Regions from separate parts of the Homo sapiens genome. Here regions 1, 2 and 4 are each linked to region 3. The links are contacts of gene promoters, found by promoter capture Hi-C in blood cells and fetal thymus (Javierre and others, 2016). All regions are on one chromosome and are shown on one strand. The core of a region is centred on a gene start or on the middle of the fragment in contact, and the rest is flanking DNA. Distances in the headings are between cores, read along the strand shown.

Evidence for each region. Contacts are between HindIII fragments. The CHiCAGO score rates a contact against its expected background, and 5 or more counts as called.
Region 1: a contact is called between a fragment that was not itself captured here and the fragment with the promoter of RBM45 in region 3, in 7 of 17 cell types (erythroblasts, megakaryocytes, M0 macrophages and 4 more). The highest score is 14.9, in erythroblasts.
Region 2: a contact is called between a fragment that was not itself captured here and the fragment with the promoter of RBM45 in region 3, in 3 of 17 cell types (megakaryocytes, endothelial precursors and M0 macrophages). The highest score is 9.8, in megakaryocytes.
Region 4: a fragment that was not itself captured here is called in contact with the fragment with the promoter of RBM45 in region 3 in 1 of 17 cell types (erythroblasts); the score reaches 9.1 in erythroblasts.

Annotation. Positions count from the first base shown.
Region 1 is chr2:178,394,553-178,398,154 of GRCh38, forward strand. OSBPL6 (oxysterol binding protein like 6) reads left to right here. Exons shown (of 25, transcript NM_032523.4): 25 at 899-3,602. The coding sequence ends at 1,007. Among named protein-coding and RNA genes, the nearest start is that of CHROMR, 17 kb to the right of the region's middle. The HindIII fragment of the contact is 2,738 bases long and covers 261-2,998 here.
Region 2 is chr2:178,430,537-178,433,958 of GRCh38, forward strand. It overlaps PRKRA (protein activator of interferon induced protein kinase EIF2AK2), which reads right to left. Exons shown (of 8, transcript NM_003690.5): 8 at 878-1,718. The coding sequence ends at 1,561. It overlaps CHROMR (cholesterol induced regulator of metabolism RNA), which reads left to right. Exons shown (of 5, transcript NR_110204.1): 3 at 234-353; 4 at 2,846-2,939. Among named protein-coding and RNA genes, the nearest start is that of CHROMR, 19 kb to the left of the region's middle. The HindIII fragment of the contact is 1,688 bases long and covers 1,204-2,891 here.
Region 3 is chr2:178,110,514-178,113,698 of GRCh38, forward strand. It overlaps RBM45 (RNA binding motif protein 45), which reads left to right and starts at 1,924. Exons shown (of 10, transcript NM_152945.4): 1 at 1,924-2,333. The coding sequence starts at 2,034. RefSeq lists an enhancer at 1,960-2,129. The HindIII fragment of the contact is 3,392 bases long and covers 1,500-3,185 here.
Region 4 is chr2:178,491,231-178,494,781 of GRCh38, forward strand. It overlaps PLEKHA3 (pleckstrin homology domain containing A3), which reads left to right. Exons shown (of 8, transcript NM_019091.4): 4 at 2,623-2,759. Among named protein-coding and RNA genes, the nearest start is that of PLEKHA3, 13 kb to the left of the region's middle. The HindIII fragment of the contact is 5,507 bases long and covers 1-3,551 here.

The DNA.
Region 1 (3,602 bases), core at 380-2,879, 280 kb after region 3:
GGCAGTGAAAATATTGAATCGATTTTGCACTTATGAAAAGTTAGTAACTATAAAAAGAAATTTTTTCTACAGCTCTTCTCTTTTCATGGGCAGCAGAAAAGAGTGAGCATCCTGCCCAGAAGGCTCTTTGTCCTTCAGCTGCACTCTTTAGAATGGTGGAAACTGGTTCCCACTCCCTTAGCCAGGGACTGAACCAGACCCCACTGCCCACAAGATCATCCTGGCTTTTATTAGGATTTCATTTTATTTCTATCACACAAAGCTTGTGTGTGTTTAGATTTGGTCTCTCTGTGGTATGATAGTAGGTGATTATTACAGGATTATTTGCAGGATTATATATACATCACACAGATTAATCTGAGGTTTCCAAATGCATCTGTTGCCCTCCAGAGCCAGGACAAAAAGCTCAGGGTAACCTTATCTCCTTTAGACTTGTCCTGTCATTACTGCCCTGGGGTAGAAATGCAGCCTTGCCCTTCAGATGTCTAAAATGTGCTCCTTGGACATGGGCCCAGTAGGGGCTCTTAGAGCTACTGATATTGCATACTTTTAGTGAAGGAGAAAGGATTCTTGTGGGTCTGGGACCTGAAGCTCTTAGTTACAGTATTTGTATATGCTTTATTGGGGGCTATTTACTTTTTACCCCTGCCAGGAGGTAATTTGTTCCTGCCCTGAGTTCCTCTCCCCCTGGCCCTACCTACTTCCATTTCACACATTTAACAACAAAAATGACTTCACTTCCAGTCAAAAATAGTCACATCATCAGTAGCTAGCAGATAAGATACTAACTGGCTTACAAACACTGCTTATATGTCCATGTCTAATCTATAGGAGAGGGTCCTATTTAAGGTTACCTTGATGTGATTCATGACTAATGTTGATGTTTATATTTTCACAGAAAAGTTATTGATGCCAATCAAAGAGAAGCCTGGGTTTCTAACGACACCTACTGGGAGCTTCGAAAGGACCCTGGGTTTAGCAAAGTAGACAGCCCTGTTCTTTGGTAGACTGGGAATGTAGAGCTAGCCAACATATCACATTCTGAATGAATAAATAACTATGCACAATTATGTTTCTTATAGCTATGTGTGGTTTCTGGGTCAACTGAAAACCTACCATTTGCTTTTCTATTCATCTTTATAATGGACTTTCAGAAGTGCATTAGACAAGGCCCCTAACCACTTTGGGATCCTTTCTGTTTTGCTGCAACCATATTCCTTAAAAAAAAAAAAAAAAAAAAAAAAAAAATCCACACCGTCCTTGGAAAGCAGAATAAAAGGAGCAGAATATAAAATCCAAAGTCTGACCAGTTTGTAAAGAAAAACAAATGGTAACTGGTGCTTAAAGCTGATCAAGAAAGTTAACAACAACATAGAAACCACACGATTGTTCCACTGTCTGGAAGCACCATCCCCTATCGCAGGACTCCTGGGCCACAAGCAGTCGGTCAGTGCAGACTTCAAGTGTGTCTGTTTGATGTGGTGTGATTGTGCTGGCCTTGTCGAAAAAGATGTGATGCTTCTCAGAACCTGTTCCATCTGTATGCCATTGTTCATGCCTTAAGAAATGCAAAGATGTACAATAAATCATTTTTAAAATGTGTGCTCATAGGTTTATGTGAAGAACAGATTTTTTGAATCATGGCATGATTCACTTTCTCAATCAGGACAATTATGAGACTAACTTAAATGGGTTTTTTAAAAGTGAACAACACGTGCTTTACTCTGATAAGTCAGTTACCATATGGTATGTCTGAAGGGAAAGAAGGAAAAGACGTGCTAAGTAGATCTCTGTATTTACGTGGCTCGTTAATTTCCTGTCCTGCGTCCAGATAATAAACCATCCCTCTTCCACCTAACCTCACAGTGTGCCCTATTATTTGGAAAAATCTGTCTTTGATTTGGACATTTGGTCATCAGTGTTAAAACCTTAAAAGGAAATAACAAAAAGCATATGGAATTCCTGTGTGGGCTTAGTAGTACTATAAATGTAATTGTTTTTGAGTGAAGCACCATGTAATCCATGTCTCAATCCCATGCCCGCTCCACTGACACTAGTCGAATTCCACTGAGAACAGAAGCAAGAATAATAGTAGTTTATTTGCATTGTTTAAATGAATTCTATGCAAAATCATATTTCAAATTTTCATCAAGTGATTCCATATGGTACATGGCTACATATTAAGCATTTACCTTGCTATTGGCAGAGATATGAAACTTAAGCTAAGGAATGTATCCATCCCAAAGCAGGAAAGCAGAAGTGTGTTTTGCATACTTCAGGATTTGTTTTTCCTCCACTAATATACAGAGGCTTTTGCAGAAAACTTGCATCAGTATTCCTGTTTCTGCACGTAGGTGACTATATAAATGCCTGTATGTTTTTTTTAAAATATCTCCTCAGAGATTTTCCTAGGGAATTATAAAATTACATATATTTTATTGTTAGTTAGATGTTTATTCTTGGATTCTTACCATTAGAATTTAAGTGTTATTTAAAACTCTGATACAGTTACAGACACTTTACATTTTATTATGAGGTGTTGATTTTAGTGGTATTTCTCCTCAGCAAAGCATTCCTAATAATGGCTAATACACCATCAAATGAAAAACTGCTGATGAGAGTGTAAGAGAAAGCGCTAACGTTTCCACTAGATGGCGCAATATTTTATTTATCCAAAACTCCTCCCTTGCATCTGAGTTTTTATGTTATGTGTACAGTCTGCATTAGCTTAGAATGGAATTTCATTCTCAGGTAAATTTTCGAATCCATCACCAGATCTAAGCATTCTGCTTCAACAATACCCTCTCTATTCCTCTCATTCCCATTTTAAATCCATAGGTGGCTTGCCCTGCGGCAGTAAAATCTTCCCCTTGATATTGATTCTTTTTCTGCTCATTCATCTTGATGTTCTTTTTCTGCATCCTGAGATACATGTCGTTAATTTTAATAAGAATCCTATTGACTTCCTCACGGGAGTCTGTTCTCCTATGGTTGATAAAGCTTTAAATACTATTTAAAGTGGTTCTGGTCTGTACTTACTAGCACTTCCCTGAACAGTCTCAAAATAGCCTAAACATAAGAAAACAATCCTGCAAAGTAAAGGTTTTTACAAGCAGAGATGAAGGAAAGGGAGCAGCAGCTGACCATCAGATGTGGTATCAGGTAGCTGGAAGAGGATCCAGGACCCATCAGGGAAGCAACGACTGTACTTAGCAATTTGGGTTATAATTACAAAAAAGAAAAAATAGTAGAAAGGATCTTTACCAGACAGTAAGGTCATGGTACAAATCAGGTGAGTGAATGTTGGTCAGAGGTAGCCTGACACTCTGATGAGGACTTCAAGATGAGAATGAGAAAAATGTCTATTAAAATCACTACATTTGATAATATCTCAGATTTAGAATCTCTTTTGGGATTCAGATAGTCTGATTATTCCAATTCAAGTGTTCAGTTAAGTTTTAGTTACTATTCCTATAATACCCAATTCACTAATATCATATCTCCTGTGGAATATTCATTGGTGCGATGGCCTCATCCCCTTTTTTACTTTTTATTGACATGGTGGTTATAAAATGAAGAGACTTACTCTATTGGAATTTTCA
Region 2 (3,422 bases), core at 798-3,297, 320 kb after region 3:
TTGCCAAAAAAGTACCTGTTTCTATGGTTTAACAAATGGAGCTTAGAATATGGAACTATGGTAAGTGCTCTTTAGAATTTAAAATAAGTTACATGTACTGGTTTTCCTTTATTTTGTAGTTTTGTTCTCAAAGAATTCCAGATATGATTTTTTTCCAGACAAAAATACCTGCTACATGCTTCCTTCTGTATGAATACATGAGACCTACCTTCATTCATGTTTCCTCTATGAAGCTTTCCCTGCACTCCAAACACAGAGCTGAGACTTCCACCTAATGTAGAAAGCTAGCACGAGCCGGCGCTGACAGATGGAAGACTTGAGATGTTACAAGATTATATATGGAAACACAAAAGGTAAGGTTAAAATCTGTTCATTAGACTTATTTCCTAACCTTTTAATCACTCATCACTTTGGAACATTCTTGCAACTGAACTGAATAAGCTGGGAAGGTTTTTTGGGTAATTCTACTAACGCTTTTTTTTTTTTTTTTTTTTTTTTTTTTTGAGACAGGGTCTCACTCTGTCACCCAGGCTGGAGTGCAGTGCTGTGATCCTAGCTCACTGCAGCTTTGATCTTCTGGGCCCAAGCAATCCTCCCACCTCAGCCTCCTGAGTAGCTGGGACTCAAAGTGTGCCACCACACCTGATTTTCTTTTTGGTAGAGATGGGGACTCACTATGTTGCCCAGGCTGGTCTCAAACTTTTGGCCTCAAGGGATCCTCCCACCTTGGCCTCCGAAAGAGTTGGGATTATAGGCATGAGCCAACATGCATGGTCAAATGCTTTTTAAACTAGTAATTCACCTGTGTATGGTTATGTCAAAGAAAAATACAAGGTTGCATACGCTTAGAGAAAGTAAGGAAGTAACCCATTACATGTATGTTTGTAAATTTTACTTAGGCCATCATTTTTTATTTTCACCTTTGAATTTCAAAGTAAATTAGAGATATGTAAATAACAGAATTATCAACATTAAAATCTTATTCACAATGGCTAACAAGAACAGGATGACAGTCAAGTCAGTAGCTTTTTAATAAAATGAGCAGAATCCCATCGTAACAGTTCTTTGTTACATGAATTCAAATACACAGCAGACCAATCATGTTCCCTGAAATTTAACAATCAATCATACTTAATAAAGGCCTGTTAGTGCTGTCCCTCAAGACTCTAATTCTAAAGGGCTTCCTTTGAATTCCCTTTATAAAGCTTTGTGCAAAGAAGAGCTTAAGCACCAGTAAGAAAGACTGTCGCTAGCATTTTTATTTCATCATCAACAACAAACATGCAGTTTCTTTCTCTGATGTGCATGGCACTGTAAAATGGGTGCTACACTCTCTCTTGTGGTACAAAGTTTATAAATACAGTATACTGATACAAAGTTGAAGCCATTAAAAAGAGCTTAATAACAACTATGAGGAGATAATTAAATCTGGAGTGTTGATGGAATCTATGAAGAGATTTAGAAACAAGACATAAACACTACGGTAAAAGTTTTACTTGGGAAGGGGCCAGAGGGGAACTTTTTATGTGCTACTGAAAGATTTTTTAAGTTGCTCCAGATTTACTTTCTTTCTGCTATTATCTTTAAATACTGCAAAGCATTGTGAGCTGCATCACTTTGTGCATTGCCACAGGAGATACCGGAGCCATGACAGACTGTGATGGGGCTGGTGGACAGTTCAGCAAGACATTGATATTGTCCATTGGCGCTCAGTTCATCTGTAATGACACATTCAAGGATGACGATTAATGTCCAATATGTATAAAGTGGATCCCTTTGTAAAAACAATACAATTCTTATTATTGTCTTTCTTTTTAAGCCTCCATGGTATACTACACCACTCGCAATCTTTGTTTTGCTTGTACAAACAAAAAACCACAACTGCTCAGCTGTAGCAGTTTTCAAACACATTACACTTCATAATGATCTGACAGTGTTAAAGACATACAGATATCTAGGCTGCACTCTAGCTCACTCAATCAGAAATATACAGTTGGGGGTGGCTGATTCCTACACTTAAAAAAATAACAGCTCCCAAGGCAATTCTAATATAGTTAGTTGAACACTATTTGGAAATTACTGAACCACACAGTAACTTTCTCAAAAGGGAAAGAACCATTTGCTAGAGGACTGGAGAGATTGTATTTTCCACTAGGAAGTCATTTTCAGGAGGCATTTGAACCAGGAATAACTTCGGTCAAGGCAAAACCTCCCTTGTGTCTTCTATTAAAAAAAAATGTTTAATTGATACATAATAATTGTATGTATTTATGCTGTTGTCCATTCATGTTCCTAGGTTTTAAGTCTGTGCAGAGTCTAGTTCTTTATTTATACTGTAAATGGGTCATGGTATTTTAAAAACAATACCTGACCCAGGAAACAAACGTTCTTCCCATCAACTGATGAGCCACTCTTACTAAAGATGGCTGAAATGAGGGCAAAGAGGAAGAAATAGAAACGTGTGCGGTATGATTTATTTGAAGTAGGCATAATAAAAATGTTATTTTTGATACTCTATTTAGTGGAAAATATCCAGATACAATGGGATTATTTAATGAGTAAAGAGGCTTTCTAGTTCTAGTATCTAGGTTCTTTTCTCCTGACCCTCCAGCTTCTGCTTGAGGCTCATCCATGTTGTAGAATGTATCAGAACTTCGTTTCTTTTTACAGCTGAATAATATTTCATTGGAAGGACAGTCCACAATTTGTTTATCCACTTATTCACTGATGGATGTTTTGGGCTGTTTCTACCTTTTGGCTTTTGTGAATGGTGCTGCTATGAATATACAGATACCTGTGTGTATAGGCATTTGTTTAAATACCAGTTTTTTATTTATACTCCTAGGAGTGGAGTTGCTGGGTCATATGGCAATTCATTTGAGGAACTGAGAAGCTTATTCCATGGAGGCTGAACTGTTTTATATTCCCACCAGCAACGTGTAAGGTTCCAGTTTATCTACATCATCACCAACACTTGCTATTTTCCATTTCATTAATGATAGCCATCCTAGTGGATTTGAAGTGGTACCTTATTATCGTGGTTTTGATTGCATTCTCTATTGACTAATGATATCGAGCATCTTTTCATGTATTTTTTGGTCATTTGGTCATTTTTCTTTTTTAATTTTAAAATTTTGAGACAGGCTCTCACTATGTTGCCCAGGTGGTCTCAAACTCCTGGGTTCCAGCGATGCTCATGCCTCAGTCTCCCAAAGGGGTGGGATTACAGGTGTGAGCCACTTTGCCCAGCCCATTTGTATATCTCCTTTGGAGAATATCTAGGTTCTTTTGAAGGTAGCTGCATATAAACTAGCCAAATTAACAGACTGTGGTTTTTAGATGGCTTTCCATATCTACAAGAACTATTTAGTTCTCAAAACTGGGAAGAAATGTTTCAGAGGCATCATTAATTCATAATCTAA
Region 3 (3,185 bases), core at 674-3,173:
CAGTATAACACAGTGCCTAACACATAGTAGATAGTCAAAAATACTTATTAAGTGAATGGGTGAATTAATTAAACTTGATAGTCATGCTCCTGCGTAGCTATTAGGCGGCTATCAAGCTTAACTAATCCAACCACAAAATAATATGTATTACCTATTTAGTAGGTAATATTATTCCTACTTTACAGTTAATGAAACCGAAGCTGCAAGTATTAAGTAACTTGTCCAGGCTCACACAATTCAGTAGCAAAACCATGTAACATAATCTGATATTACTTTGCATTATATATTTACATGTAAGATTTCCACAGTGGGGGAAAACAAGCCCTCGGGACATGTCTTTCCTGTTCCTCATTATATATCTAGCTCCTGGCATAGAGCCTGGCACACAGTTGGAGTACAATAAGTATTTATCTGGTTGACTTCATAGCAACCTAGGTCTTAGCATCCAGAACTTGTTCATTTGAAGAACTCCGCCCTCGGTCTACTTAGGGGTTTATTCCTTTCACTTCATTCCAATGCCACTGCTAAATCCAGGCCTTGTTTCTGGATTTCTACTGGGTTTCTGACCTCTCCTCTAAGGCTTGTTAACAAGAAGGCATTTCCCACTTTGCTTGCACTCTATGATTTCTCTTAGTTCCACAGCTGAGCAGTCCACCCTCACTGCCCTCCAACCCCAGGGTTGCTTGTAGAAGTTGAGTAAATCAACAGATGGAGTTAGTTCTGGGTTTTTTGTTGTTGTTGTTGTTGTTTGAGGTGGAGTCTCGCTCTATCCCCCAGGCTGGAGTGCAGTGGTGCAAACTCTGCTCACTGCAAGCTGTGCCTCCTGGGTTCACACCATTCTCCTGCCTCAGCCTCCTGAGTAGCTGGGACTACAGGTGCCCGCCACCACGCCAAACTAATTTTTTTGTATTTTTTTGGTAGAGACGGGGTTTCACCGTGTTAGCCAGGATGGTCTCGATCTCCTGACCTCGTGATCCGCCCGCCTCGGCCTCCCAAAGTGCTGGGATCACAGACGTGAGCCACTGCGCCTGGCCAAGTTAGTTCTGGTTTTAGTCGTACTTTTTATCTCTATTACTTTGGCTATGCTATAGGCCTCAGTTTCCTCATCTCTAACAAATGACGCTGAAATTGAATGATCTCAAAGCTTCCTTCCAACTCTAATGCTATATAGTTTGAACTCTGTCCTATATTGATCATCTATTGAGCTTATGACCAAGATGGTGACAACTCTCCACTTTGACCAAAACTTAGTTAGGCTCCTTTGAGTCCTCTGCTTGACTAGGCTTGATCTTGGGCTTTCTGTCCTTGTAGAATCCAATTTGAGCAAGAATCCTGCTGAATCAGTGTAGTGAAAATCCTCATTCTTGGTGTCTGACTACCATGGATATCAATCACCCTGGCCTGCCTTCAGCAACTATCCTGTCAAGTTGGTTTAGCCAGAATCCTCCTTAACACTGATGTTCCCTCTTTGTAATTTTCCATCCACTGACCTCCCACCAAGCTTCTTGGTTAGAAATTTGTCCTTATTAGAGTCAAAATTCAGTCCAATCTCTCTCTCCCACTGCAAGACCCCATTGCAGCTGTCCCTGGACCTATCTCCATGGCTCCCTTTGTCAAAGTCGGCCTTCCTGTACCATCTCTAACGAGTGTCATGAATAATTTTTTCTTTAACACTGGAAAGAATCCTTGGCCTTAGGGGTGGGGTAAAGCCAGCGTTGGGAAAGCCTGTGCATTAGGCAGCGCTGTTCTGCCTGCAGGGAACGATTGCACAACTGATAACTTGGGCCTAGGCTCAGCTGGATTTGAGGATTTGAGACTTAGACTGGGTCAGGGTCCCCCGCGTCGCCAGGGGGCGCTGCAGGCCGCTCCCCGGAAGGCCTCATCCTGCGCGGCTGGACAGCGCCTGGCGCCGGACTCCTCTTTCTCCCGGAAGCGGAGCACCGAGCCGGCAAAGGCTTGGGTGTGAGACAGCAGCGGTGGCAGACACCGCAGAAGCAAAGAGCAGTGAGGCTCCTGCATTCGGGTGGAGCACCATGGACGAAGCTGGCAGCTCTGCGAGCGGCGGGGGCTTCCGCCCGGGCGTGGACAGCCTGGACGAACCGCCCAACAGCCGCATCTTCCTTGTGATCAGCAAGTACACACCTGAGTCGGTGCTGAGGGAGCGCTTCTCGCCTTTTGGCGACATCCAGGACATCTGGGTGGTGCGGGACAAGCACACCAAGGAGTCCAAGGGCATTGCTTTCGTCAAGTTCGCCCGCAGCTCACAGGCCTGCAGGGCCATGGAGGAGATGCATGGCCAGTGCCTCGGCCCCAACGACACCAAGCCCATCAAGGTGCGGGTGCCCGGGTCGGGGTGCCCTCGGGGGAAGGAGTGGGCCTCTTGGACCTCCCTTCACCTGCTGCTCTGCCGGGGTGAGGGAGGAGTGGAACATCCGTTCCCGGCAGCTGACCAGACAGCACCTGGCTTGGGGACAGGGGCTGCTTTGAGGAGAGGCTCCCCTCCCACGAAGCTGCGCCGGGTTGCAGGGAAGGGGACGGGATGCGGAGTGTTTGCCCCACGAGAGCGGACCCGGCAGCCGCGGCCACCGGGTGACAGAACAGCAGTGGCTGGGCTTCCCCTCTCCCTCGCCCTCACTAATCCACCAGCTCTTGAGTTCACTGCCAAACTCGTCCTAGCCTACTTTGAGTACTTTTCTGACCTTCCTCTCTCAGATGCCCAGATTTCCATATATAAAAAACGGAAAAACTCTACTTTTCCTCAGGTACAGATGAGGCGTTAACAACTTGACAGAAGTACTTTAAACTGGGGAGGGACCTCTGGTGTTGGACGTTTTCCTAGTACCAGGCGAAAGAATACATGTACAGAAAGAATAAGTGCAGGTGTTTAAAACGGTCACTGTTACATATTCTTCACATTTTGTTATTTTGGAAAATTGTTTTGAATGAGCTCTGTTTCTGAAAGTGTTAATAGCATACATTTGGTTCTTGACCCTTTCTGTTACTGCAACTTTTCTTTGAAAGCAGACCAAAGTAAACTGCCTTAAGAAGAGCCAAATCATTGTGATAATGACACATGGCAGGAAGGATCATTTTGAGGGTTATTTGACATAATATGTGCTGTCAGCACAGTGCCTCACACAGGGTAAGCCCTCAATAATGTCCTTGTTATTGATCAGTAGTAGCCA
Region 4 (3,551 bases), core at 10-2,509, 380 kb after region 3:
GAATTCCCGACCTCAGGTAATCCGCTCGCCTCGGCCTCCCAAAGTGCTGGGATTACAGGCATGAGCCACTGCGCCCAGCCTAAACTCGTGCTTTCACTGGCTGATATATAGACAGTAAGATGTTGAAAAGGAATTTCAATGTGAGAAAATGCCCAGGGTTAAATGATCATTGAAAAAAGCAGGATTCAGAATTATGTGTATTGTTAGTATTCATTGGCTGGCTTAGGAAAGGTATGTAAGAATTGGTCAGATTGTTACCTTTGGAAGTGGAATTTGTGGGAAGGAGACTCAGTTGTCACTGTATATACCCTTTGGTATCTTTTGACTTTACCATGTACGCATATTGCCAATTCAAAAAGATTTTTAGAAACTGAAAGCAAAGCAAATGATTTATGTTATTAGTTCAACTATATACAGATATAATGTGAAAATGACAATTTCTTGATAGTGAGATTATAGTTTGTCTTAGTTCATTTTCTGTTGCTTTGACACAATACTTGAGACTGTAATTTATAAAGAAAAGAGGTATGACTCATGGCCCTAGAGGCTGGAAGTTCAAGATTGGGCAGCTGTATCTAGTTGGCTTCTGGTGAGGGCCTCATGCTGCATCATAGCATGGCGGAGGAAGCAAGGGAAAGCGGGTGTGTGCGGAAAGAGATCAAACCCAAGAGGCAGCCTCGATTTATAACAACCCGCTCTCATAGTAACTAATCTAGTCCCAAGAGGTTGAGAACTCACTCACTCCTTTGACGACCTAATCACTTGTTAAAAGTACTACTTTCCTAACACTGCCACACTGGGGACCCAGACTCAACATGAGTTTTGCTGGAAACAAACGATATTCAAACCATAGTACAGTTATTTGATTTTTCTTTTCTATATTTTTTCTATTTTTCAAAATTTTTTATTAAGTATGTATTACTTATATAATTAAATGCAAATTAATTACATTAGTGAAAGCAAGTAAATTATAGGTATTGAGAAATGAAGGCTGAGGATTGAATTTATAACAATTTTGAAATATATGAAAACATTACAGAATATAGCTACAGGTAGGATAAGAAGGAATGAATATTCACAATAGCTAAAAGATGGAAATAACCCAAATGTTCATTGGTAGAGGAATGGATAAACAAAATATACAATAGAATATTACTCAGCTTTAAAAAGCAAATTGTGACACATGCTACACTGTGGATGAACCTTATAGACATTACAATAAGTAAAAAAAGCTAATCATGTGGGGTGGGGGGAGGGGGGAGGGATAGCATTGGTAGATATACCTAATGCTAGATGACAAGTTAGTAGGTGCAGCGCACCAGCATGGCACATGTATACATATGTAACTAACCTGCACATTGTGCACATGTACCCTAAAACTTAAAGTATAATAATGATTAAAAAAAAAAAAAAGCTAATCACAGAAGGACATATAGTCTATGATTCCACTTATATGAAATACCCAGGGCAGTCATACTTATACAGACAGAAAATAGAATGTTGGTTTCCAGGGCCCAGGGGGAGGTGGAAACAGGGTTAGTGTTTAGTGGGTACAGACCTTCAGCTGGGGAAGATGAAGACGTTCTGGAGATGGATGGTGGTGATGATTTTACAAATACGAATGTACTTAATGGCACATTTTGAAGTGAATACTTAAAAGTGGTTAAAATAGTAAATTTTATGTTTATGTATACTTTACCACAGTTTTTTTTAAAAAGGAGAAAGAATAGGCTTAAATATGAGCAGGAATTGATTTAGGTTAGATTAAATGCGCAGATAGAGCTGCTTTGTCCATTCTGGCAAAAGTGGCTTTGTGGCTAGGACCAGAGAGCAAGACCACTGGGGCCTGGCCCAGGGAGTGTGGAGAAGCACCAGAAATTTACTCTATGAATTTTCCTCCTCTGTAGCTTATACTTCTAGTTTAAAAGGTATTGGCTTGTGAGTGGCTGAGATTATGGCTGGATGTTTAGTTTGTCTGGACATACTAAGGAAGAAAGTATGCTCTTAATAAAAAATTTTGAAAATAGTATAATGTGAGAATGAAACTGAAAGAAACAGAAGAAAATAAATGAATGTTTATAAACAATAGTTTTAATTACATAAAAATTTAAAACTTCTGTAAGCCAAAATAAAGAAAACTGAAAGGAAGCTAACAGATCTGGATAAGGTATTTGCAGTATATAAGATAGAGGAAAGATTACTATCTTTAATTTGTAAGAACTTTTACAAACTATCAGTTTATATTGTTAAGAGAAAAACCAACATCAGAACTGGAAAAAATGTATAAAGGACAAAATAAAAAAGCAATTCACAAAAGAAAACCAAGCACTTTTTAAATGGAAGATGAGTAATGGAATGGAAATATCCTGTATAAAACATCCAGTGGTCATCATCCTATCTCTGGAAATCACCTAAACATGGCAGGCATATAACTGTCAGCTTTTTCCCAATTATCTGAAGAGAAGATGTTTCCTTAGGGCTCTTGTATCCTGTTTCCAAGGTCTCACATTTCTTGAGCTATAGGTATTTATATTCATTGCTTTTTTAAATGATTACATTTTGTTACATTGCTCAAAGAATATGAAAATGATCTAACTGTATATTTATGTATATTCTTTTCAGAAATAAGTGAAACCAGTGAATCGCTGAAAACCAAAATGTCTGAACTTCGCCTCTACTGTGACCTCTTAATGCAGCAAGTTCATACAATACAGGAATTTGTTCACCATGATGAGAATCATTCATCTCCTAGTGCAGAGGTAGAGCGAAGAGGATCTCTTCACGTGTGGTTATGCTTTGGAGTACTCTGGGGGGATCCTCAGTCATTCCATAAGATGACAGGCATTTTCACATTGAGTTATTTTCAGCTTTTCTGGGTTCTGCCTACTGTATACTATCTGGAAATCTGTAGCATCTTCTCGATTGTGTCTGTGTGGCCAGAGAAGAACATGAAGTAGCATATTTCTCCAGGGGTCAAGGCTTGTCTTTGCAGCCAGTCTGATAATTTGGAGGTTGGAGTGGGGAAGAAGCATTCCAGGCTTTGTTCTCCAGGCTAGCGGCATAAATTCACTGGACAGCTGCTATTCTCTTTTTTTGGTAATAAGGTCCCTGCTTCAACTATGAGAGTTGATAACTTATCTTTATGAAATAACTTAAAACAAATCCTTCTCAGAACAGTGACTTAGGAATCAAAACTCAGATTAGTAGGATCGGGCTATAATAGGCTCATTCTTCATGGTAAAATAGGACCAGTGAGCTATACCACTCTCTGGGTGAAAGGCCAGCATGTTGCCTGTCCCTTTTTGCCTAACTTGGTAGAAGTGGGGCAAGAAATCTTCCTATTTCTTCTGTGGCCTTCTCCTGTTGGGGAGGAATCTTGTGTAAGAAGCCCAAGGACAAACTGACCACAAGCTCCCTGGAGGTAGTTGACCTCACACTTGCTACAGCAGCTCAGTGACAGTATTAGGGACCCAGGCTTGTTCCATCCTTCCACTCTGCCATTCTTGGTGTGTTGAGTTTTTCTCCTAATGCCCCAGGTGTCAAGATGACTG